Linked DNA regions of Homo sapiens: all the other regions are linked to region 1. Evidence: promoter capture Hi-C in 16 types of primary human blood cells and fetal thymus (Javierre and others, 2016). All regions are on one chromosome and are shown on one strand. The core of a region is centred on a gene start or on the middle of the fragment in contact, and the rest is flanking DNA. Distances in the headings are between cores, read along the strand shown. Region 1 holds the start of PRODH2 (proline dehydrogenase 2). Region 2 holds the start of KRTDAP (keratinocyte differentiation associated protein). Region 3 overlaps ATP4A (ATPase H+/K+ transporting subunit alpha).

What was found. Contacts are between HindIII fragments. The CHiCAGO score rates a contact against its expected background, and 5 or more counts as called.
Region 2: a fragment that was not itself captured here is called in contact with the fragment with the promoter of PRODH2 in region 1 in 1 of 17 cell types (M0 macrophages); the score reaches 5.3 in M0 macrophages.
Region 3: a fragment that was not itself captured here is called in contact with the fragment with the promoter of PRODH2 in region 1 in 1 of 17 cell types (M0 macrophages); the score reaches 5.6 in M0 macrophages.

The regions. Positions count from the first base shown.
Region 1 is chr19:35,811,273-35,814,275 of GRCh38, forward strand. PRODH2 (proline dehydrogenase 2) reads right to left here and starts at 1,573. Exons shown (of 10, transcript NM_021232.2): 1 at 1,360-1,573; 2 at 1,088-1,284; 3 at 862-1,000; 4 at 690-776. The coding sequence starts at 1,533. The HindIII fragment of the contact is 7,636 bases long and covers 1-3,003 here.
Region 2 is chr19:35,488,425-35,491,427 of GRCh38, forward strand. It overlaps KRTDAP (keratinocyte differentiation associated protein), which reads right to left and starts at 2,040. Exons shown (of 6, transcript NM_207392.3): 1 at 1,932-2,040; 2 at 378-416; 3 at 238-279; 4 at 17-61. The coding sequence starts at 2,018. The HindIII fragment of the contact is 3,143 bases long and covers 1-2,997 here.
Region 3 is chr19:35,548,198-35,551,200 of GRCh38, forward strand. It overlaps ATP4A (ATPase H+/K+ transporting subunit alpha), which reads right to left. Exons shown (of 22, transcript NM_000704.3): 20 at 2,813-2,914; 21 at 2,637-2,728; 22 at 1,834-2,446. The coding sequence ends at 2,418. Among named protein-coding and RNA genes, the nearest start is that of TMEM147-AS1, 3.7 kb to the left of the region's middle. The HindIII fragment of the contact is 2,360 bases long and covers 300-2,659 here.

The sequences.
Region 1 (3,003 bases), core at 323-2,822:
CTGGGTGTGGTGGCTCACACCTATAATCCCAGAACTTTGGGGGGCTGAGGCTGGGGGATTGCTTGAGGCCATGAGTTAGAGACCACCCTGTGCAATACAGTAAGACAAAGAGAAAGAGAGAGAGAGAGAGAGAGGAGGGAGGAGAGAGAAGGAAGGAAGGAAGGAATAAAGGAAGGAAGGAAGGAAGGGAGGGAGGGAGGGAGGGGAGAGAAGGAAAAAGAAAAGAAGGAAGGAAGGAGAGAGAGCAAAAGAGGAAGAGGAAGGAAGGAGAGAGAGAGAAAGAAAGAAAAAAAGATGGAGTAGGGTTGAAAGAGAATGTGGAGATAAAAAGGAATTAATGATTGAATGAACAAACTAAGACCCCATTGGCCTAATCAGAACTTACACCCAGCCAGCTCACACCCATGCAGCTGTGTTGACTGAGAACACACTGATGTACCTCCTTCTAATTGATAAACAGCTTCTATCCCAATCCCTCCTCTGAGAGCCTCCAGCCTCCAGGCTCCTCCCTGAGAACCCAGATGACCCTGATTCCATCCATTTCAACCATGCCTGGGAGCTACAGCTGCACTTCTGCTGGCTGTTCCAAGCCTGGAGGTGGCCGTAGCATTTTGAACATCTGGCGTGCGGTGTGGCCGCATCTAAGTCCAAGGCACTCTGTCCCCGACAGTCCCGCTTGAGATCCTTACCTGCCCAGAGTCCATAGCTTCAGCCAGCCTCTCGGGGCTCAGCTCCAAGGAGGCTCCTGGCCTTCTGACCCACGAGGCTAGCTCCTTCTGAAATGGGGTGGTAGGCGGGGTGGTGAGGGGAGCCCGATGGGCAGCCGCGCCCTCCCCGCACCCCCGTCTTTGCACTCCTTACACAGAGCCGAGTACTGGTCAGCGCCGTCACCTTCAGCTGCATGAGGCTGGCCTCAGCCAGGCTGGGGGGCTCCAGGAGGCCCCGTGACAGGTCCACACACCGCAGCATAGCACCGAGGTTCCCCTCATACCACGCCTCACTGCCCAGCCAGCAGGTGTCAGGGCCCGAACAGCAAAGCCCCTTCCTGCGTCCTCCCAGCCTCCCTGGGCCCTGGCTCCCTACTCACCCACTCTTGGCAGCAGAGTCCGGCTCCTCCTCAGTGGGCACTGCCAGCAGTGGTCGGAGGCTGAGGGTCCGCAGCTGCTGCACGCAGCCCTTCACCTCCTCTGCTGTCTCACCAGCCACAAACTGCCCATAGACGGATGCTCGGAGAAATGCGCCTGAGAGCCGGGAGCCCAGGAGTCGCCGAGACCAGGCCTGGAGCTGGGTGACAGGGAGCGAGGGCTCAGCGCCAGGCTATGAGGAGCCTCCAGGCTGGTCCTCAGGATCACTGCTCACCAACAGCCCGTGAGTGACGAGTGGGGGCCAGGCACACAGCCGGAGAACCAGCAAGGCCCGTGTCAGCTCTCCTGTGCCCTTAAGGTGGAAGGCCCCGCCATCAAAGCTCAGGGACTGCCAGCCCCTGGAGGGGGGACCAGCTTGGGAACAGAGCACGTAACAGGTCCGGAGCATCCTGGGTCCCTGGCTGCCTCCACACCAGGGAAGGTTCTCTGGAGGCAGCAAGTTCACCAACTGCCCCTTGCCCAGACCAGGGGCAGTGACTGATTAACTGGGCAAAGCCTCAGGATCACAGGCTCCTTGGGGGCAATTAATTATTAACAAATGGGGACAGAGTTCAGAGTAACGGAAACGGGAGGTGAACCCCAGTAACAGCCCCCAAGAATGCTCAGCACAACAGCCTGCACTTATTAGGTAACCACCATGTGCTGGGGAAAGCAGGGGCTCCGGAGCAAGGATCCCTGGGCTCAGGACACCGGGCTTTGTGATCCAGGACAGGCTACTTAATCACTTTTGTGGCAATTGCTTCCTCTTAAAATTGGAAACGCTGTAGTGTTATTGAATACATTTGAAAATACGGTTCTCACGTTTGTAATCCCAACACTTTGGGAGGCCAAGACCGAGGAGTTTGAGACTACCCTGGGCGACATAGTGAGACCCCATCTCTACAAAAAATACAAAAATTAACTGTGTGTGGTGGCACACACCTGTGGTCCTAGCTACTCAGGAGGCCGAGGAAGGTGGATCTCTTGAGCCTGGGAGGTCAAGGGTGCAGTGAGCTGTGATTGTGCCACTGCACTCCACCCTGGGTGACAAAGTGAGACTCTGTCGCCAAAAAAAGAAAAAAGAAAAGACAAATAACCTATATAACCCAGCTGTTCCATGCTAAGTACATATCCTAGAGACCTTAAACATGGACAGCAGGAAACATGTACAGGAAAGAATGTTCAGAGGAGCAGTGTCTGAACTACCCAAATGTCCATCAAAAGGAGAATGGATACATATATGGTGGTGTAGTTATGCAATGGAATACTATACAGTAATGAAAAAGAATGGATACTGATACACACAACTGTGTGGCTGAATCTCACAATGTCAAGTGAAAGAAGCCAGACACCAAACAGGGCAAGCTGTATTATTCTTTTTTTTTTTTTTTTTTTTTTTTTTTTGAGACACAGTTTCACTCTTGTTGCCCAGGCTAGAGTGCAATGGCACAATCTCAGCTCACTGCAACCTTCACCCCCCGGGTTCAAGCGATTCTCTTGCCTCAGCTTCCAGAGTAGCTGGGATTACAGGCATGTGCCACCACGCCCCACTAATTTTGTATTTTTAGTAGAGACAGGGTTTCTCCATGTTGGTCAGACTGGTCTTGAACTCCCGACCTCAGGTGATCTGCCCGCCTCAGCCTTCCAAAGTGCTGGGATTACAGGCATGAGCCACTGTGGCTGGTCTATACTTTTCAATAAATATAAAAGCAAGGAAAGTGAAACTGCAGTAAAATGTTGGGAATACATGCGTGGGTGGTCAAACTATGAGGACAAGAAAAGTAAGGACATGATTATCACAGAAGTCAGAGAGGTGGTTGATTGTGGGGGATGGGAGGAATTGTAATGGGGTAGAGGGATATGGGGACTTCTATATCCT
Region 2 (3,003 bases), core at 176-2,675, 320 kb before region 1:
GCGCCGGAGCACTCACCTCAAAGAGGGCGTGCCAGTTCAGGAACTCATCAGCCTTAAACGCCTGAGGAGGAAGAGAGACAGCAGAAGCAGGTCAGCTCCAGGGGAGGCCAGAGCTTAGCCCCCAGCCCTCTGGAGAAGGTGAAGGAACCGTGGCAGCTTTGCAAGCTCTCTACCAAGGCGTTTATCCCCTCTGTGATGAGGGTATTCGTGGGGGTAGCACCAGAGAAGCGTACTCACAGATCGCAATTTGTCGATGTTCAGGAACGGGGTGTTAAAGGCCTAGGCAGAAACGCAGGGTGTTAGGAAAGTTGCTAAGAAGCAAAAAGAGAGAGAGGACAGACTCGTGGCTGGAGGGCCGGGGAAAACAGACGGCTTACCTCGGGTCGTGACGCATAATTCTCAATGGTGCTTTCTTCCTGGAAAAGGAGAGGGAGAAAAGGCGGCAGGGGGTCACGTGATGCCAGGGCCCTTGCCCACATCCCTGTCTGCCAGCTCTGCCTTCATCCACAGCCCAGTCCCCGAAAGAACGCAACCCATTCCCCACCATGGTCTCCGTTCCAGTCGCGCACATGGTTGGCGGATGTGCAGGGTGAGGAGGGGGAATTGGAGAATGGTACATGTAAGCAGTGTCACCATGGGCAGCAGGCAGAAAGCCTGGAGCCGAGCATTCCTCTCCGGAAAAGCTAGCTAGTGCTGTCCTGCAGTTGACTTAAGTCTAAGAGGTGGGGTGTTCTGGAGACACCCACGCTCAGTCCGTATAGCTGGATGGGAAAGATTTGCGAGCAGGTGGGAGCCCAGCTGCTGAGGTGACCCGCCTGCCTCTCACTGATCGAGGTTGCTTTGCTTTGTGGATTTATTGCCACCACTGTTGGAGGTTCCATAATCCCCCTCCATGGGGACCCCACCCCAGGCCTCAGTGTGTCCCATCGTGTCTTCCCCATGACAGAGCCCAACACGGAGCCCGCAGGCTGGATCCAGATGCTTAGATCTCATAAAAATTTGGTCATTTGTTTTTTGGTTTGAATTAGACATTTTGAATTAGTAAGAATTCATAAATTCATCCAGATTTCTAGTTTCCCCTGAAAAATGTAAAACTCTAGGCACATCTTCCCAATCCATGGCGTCAGGTGGGGTGAAAGCTGCCCTTTCAGACTGGGAAAGTTGGCCCCATTTCACCTCAGGCCCTGACAGCCCCCCCAGCTCAGTGACACCACTGGCTTGGTCCTTAGCAGCTGAGCCTGTGCCCCTGTCTTAGACTTTTAAATCCGGAATAGGCATCAGGATTCCTCTCTGGCTGAGGACTGGATGGTAAAGATTCTCACTGTGGCCTATGCTCCAGAGACAGCAGGGAGCCACCCGTCACCTGGGCACCACTCCCAGGGGCACAAATGAAGCAAAGAGGAGCTAAGCAGGGGTGTCTCCAGAACACCCCAGCCCCACTCCTCTTTGAGTTAAGTCAGCTGCAGGCAGAACTAGCTAGTTTTTTGCTTTGCTTCACCCTCTCCACCTGCTGCCCATGTGGATGCAGGCCTGGGTTTGGAGCTGCTCTGCCTCACATTGCCGTTCTCCAGTTCCCCCTCTTCCCCTGCACGTCCCCAGGCATGTGTGCAGCTGGAACGGAATGGGTGAACACTCTTGAGAGCCCATGGTGGAGATAGTCTGAACCCAGACCACCCACTCAGTCCCAAGGTTCAGTACACGAGCCTCCCCAACACACTTCACCATCCCTTCCAGAAAGAGGAGCATCTCTGTCCCAAATGTCTCCCCAGGGATGCTCTGTTCCCTCCTCCCTTCCTCAGAGCCCCAGTTTCTTCAGCCCCCATCAGAATCCAAAACTAAGAGCCACTTATCCAGGAATGGACAGGAGGTAGAGAGATGGAGGGGTAGGTGGGTAACACGTATAAGAATAAAAATGCAGGTGACGTGCTCACCTCAGGACCACCCAGGGTGGCTCCCTGGGCAGAGTGGAGCACCAGGAGGGAGAGGAGCACCACGGCAGGAAGGACCGGGATCTTCATGGCGTCAAGTTTGGGGTGCTCTGAGGCGGGGCCTCAGTGCTTGCTCTTTATATTGCCAAGGAGGCAGATGAGCACAGAAATGGGGTCCCCACCCCACTGACTCACCCCCAGATCTTGTCGCCCACCCCCGGGGCTCTGGGAGGGGGAGGCATGGACTGTTCCTCATTTGCCTCGGATTTCTCAATTCGCATTCTGCCCCAGGCACGTGGAAGGTAACACTGCAATGGGTCTCTTCATGCAGATGGGGCTGGGACAGAGACAGGTTGGACCTGTCCCTCCAAGGGATTGGCAGTGGTACCCAAGCAACCTCTCCTTTTGTCTTTGTCTCTTTTCGTTATATCCCTCATTCCTCTCTTAGAATTCAGGCTTTTTCTTTTCTTTTCTTTTCTTTTTTTTTGACAGGCTCTCACTCGTTGCCCAGACTGGAGTGCAGTGGTGTGATCACAGCTCACTGCAGCCTTGACCTCCCAGGCTCAAGCAATCCTCCCACCTCAGTCTCCCTAGTAGCTGGGACTAGAGGCACGCATCACCTCACCTAGCTAACTTTTTTATTTTCTTGTAGAGATGTTGCAGCTTTTTTTTTTTTTAATTTTCTCGTAGAGATGAAAATGTCTCGCCATGTTGCCCAAGCTGGCCTCAAACTCCTGGACTCAAGGGGTCCGCCTGCCTTGACCTCCCAAAGGACTATAGGTGTGAGCCTGCGCTCCATGCTCATTCAGGCCTTTTCTTCCACCCTACCAAAATCTATGTAAACTCTTTAGCTTGGCATTGAAGGTGGTCCATGCTCTGAACTCAACCCACCTTTATAACTTCTTCCTTTACTAGCTTTGTACATACCTCACATTCTGGCCAAATTAGACCCCTTACCAACTATATCCTTCTTTTTCCCTCTTCAAAGCATCCGGCCATGCTGTTCCTTATTCCTAACATGGCCTTCTCTCATCTCCAGTTCTCAGAACCCAACACTCATCTTGGATGAAGCTTC
Region 3 (3,003 bases), core at 230-2,729, 260 kb before region 1:
AGAGACAGCTGCAGCCAAGAAGCAGAGCAGTGGGGCCCCCAGCTTGGACATTGTCCTGGATGCCCCCCTCCACCCTCAGCCTTCCTTGGTCCACTGAAGCCGGCTCCCCGCCTTTCTCTGAGGGGGATGTGTCAGAAGTTTTGAATGTCATGTTTAAGCTCCACTTTGATGTACACCCTCCCCACTCAGGAAGATGCTCCCCATCCTTGGTGTTCCCAGTGGGGTACCCCAGGGAGTAGGATAGCACCATTGCCCCTCCTCCTCCACCAGGCCGTTGAAGTTCCACCTGATTTTTTTTAAGCTTAGGCCTAGGAAAGCTCACTATGACCATCTCGATGTTTCCAGAGGGAGCATTTGCCTTCAGACGGCAGCTGCCATCTAGGCCACTCTTCCTCATTGTTTGGAGTAAAGACAGGGTCCATGGGTCTCTTGGGAGCTGGAAGTGATTGATCACCTTGACTTTGATGTAGAAAGGAAGTAGATGGGGCAGTCTATCTGGGTGGACTTGTGACAAGGTCACTTTCTCCCACACTTCCATGCCCCACATAGCTCTTCACACATATTGAGACAAGTGTAGGATGCAAAATTACCAACTGGAATAATCCCAGCTTACATGGGGTTCAGGGAGAGAGACTGGAGTGGCTGGGCCTGAGTTGGCAGAGGACGGTGAAGCCTGGGCGGTTGGACTGTGGGGAGCCAGGCTTCAGGTGATCGGGGTTATGATGGGAAAACCCCGGGTTATGGGGACCCAGAGGAGCCGCCTGGCCTGCCGTGGAAGCAGTGCGGGCTCCCCTGAGCAGAGGACATGTGAGCTGAGACCTAAAGAATGAGTGATTGGGGCAAGGCAGAGGTAATGGTCTTGAGGTCAGAGAGGGGGCCTGTTTTTCCCAAGGGAACATAACTGGTTGGAATGAGTTCAAGGGGACTTGTAAGACTACAGAAGCTGGCAGGGGTCAGATCACAGGAGGCTTTGGGAACCAAGGAGAGCTCTAGGCAGAGGAAGGACAGGGTCAGATTTGGCTTTAGGAAGCTCTGCATGGCTGTTGTCTGAAATGGGAAAGCTGAGGCCACGAGGCCAGGGCTGGACCAGGGCAGGGCTTTGTGGGGTTAGGAGAGTGACTAGAAGCCAAGCCCAGGTGTTGGTGATCAGTGGCTGTGTGTATTTATTTACCGGCAGGGGGCGCTAACAGGTAAGGGAGGAGCAAAGAGTTCCAGGATAACTGGAGTTTGGGGCTTGTAAGCCCGAGGGCTCACCACGTTTCCAAGGGAGAAGGGACCACACTGATGGGACAGTGGGACTATCAGATTGGGTCAGTGCATGGGTACAGGCATGGGGGGTGATGAAGAGGCCAGTGTAGGTCACCAACACTGGGGGAAGCTGGGGACAGAGGTGGGTCTCACTGCAGAAACAACTGAAGCCATGGGGGACTGGGGGGCTGTGGTCACAAGGAAGGAGAAGCCCAGGCCCTAGCCAGAGAAAGCCACATAAGAAAGAGGAAGAGAGGTGAACAGAGGGGCTGGGAAAGGAGCGGCAGAGATGGGAGGTAGGGGGATGGGGTTAACCTTTCAGGTGAGGGGTGTGAGGAGGGGACCTCCAGGAGTTGTTCAGGAACTGGCCATTGCCGGGACAGAGGAGTAAGCAGGTAGGCTCAGAAAGGAGACACCGCTGGGGGGTGGGGGATGCTTGATGTGGAAATGACTTGGGCCCCCTTGTGTCTGGGAGCCTCCAGGAGGGAGAAGGGTGCTGAGAACAGAGAAAGCCCAGAGGTGGTAGGGGGTGCCTATCGCCACGGCCCAGCTTGCGTTTAGATGCCATGACCCTGGGCAAAGGAATAGGAATCATTTCCCCAAGGCAGGTTTATTGAGGACCTACTATGTGCCAGGCTGTGTACTAGGCACTGGAGGTGCAGCCCTGGATAAACAGCCCCCATGTACAGGACTGTGGGAGATCACAAGCACTAATGAGAGACGCTGAGGACAGTGCCTGGCACCAGATACAGCACAGTCAGCATGAGCTGGTTTTATTACCATCGCCCAGGACACAAGCGTGTCTTTAACGAAGGGCCCTCAGGCAGCCGTCCAGCCTGGACTGGAGTCCTAAGAACAGAAACACCCTCCAGAAGCGGTCAGCTGTACTCCCTGTCAGAGCCCCACCGCCACCACAGGTGGCGGCTTTCCCGAGGCCAGCCCAGAGGACTGCCCAGGCGCTGCTGCTCCAGGAGGTGCGAACCTTGGGAATGGGGGAGGGGAGTGGGCAGGTCCCTCCAAGTTTGGGGTGCCGTGGGCTACAGAAGCAGATACTGGTGGGGCTGGGACTCTTGGTTGCTCAGATATCTTGGTGGCTGTCCAGAGGGTCCCACGAGCCCTGCCCCCACCTGCTGTGGCAGTTGCAGGGATGCTTGAAGGCAGTCGTCCCTCTAATAGTAGAGTTCCTGGTCCCACCAGCCTGGGAGAGAGAGGGAGAAAGGAGACTCAGTGCTGGGGGTGCCACTTAGGCAGGGCCAGGGGCTCAGAGGTCAGTGCTGGTTGCTATGGAGGGTCAAGGGCTTAGAGGCCAAGTGTTGAGGATCAAAGGTGGGTGCAGCTGCTCAAACGTTTCAGTCCCCTGCCCCCAGGCTCCCAGTCTCCACACTCACTCCCTGGGCAACAGCGAACTCCAAGCTTCCGGATCTCATCATAGACGAAGATGAGGATGCCGTAGGGCAGGGGGACCAGCCACCACTGGAACCTGAAGGCACATGGCAAGGTGAAGGCCATCCCAGGCCTGTGCCCTACAGCCCCCTCCCTGTCCTTGCCCCTCACAGCCTCTCACCGAATGGGCATGAAGTTGAAGATGTTGGGCATGCCGGGGCAGTAGCACAGGAAGCAGCCGATGCAGACCTGGAACACGATGGCGATCACCAGGATCTTATTCCTGGGGGTGGGCAGAATGGGACAGGCCATTAGGAATTGGGGACGTGATGGAAATCAGGATACTGTGGGTCAAAGTAGGTCAGATGTCAG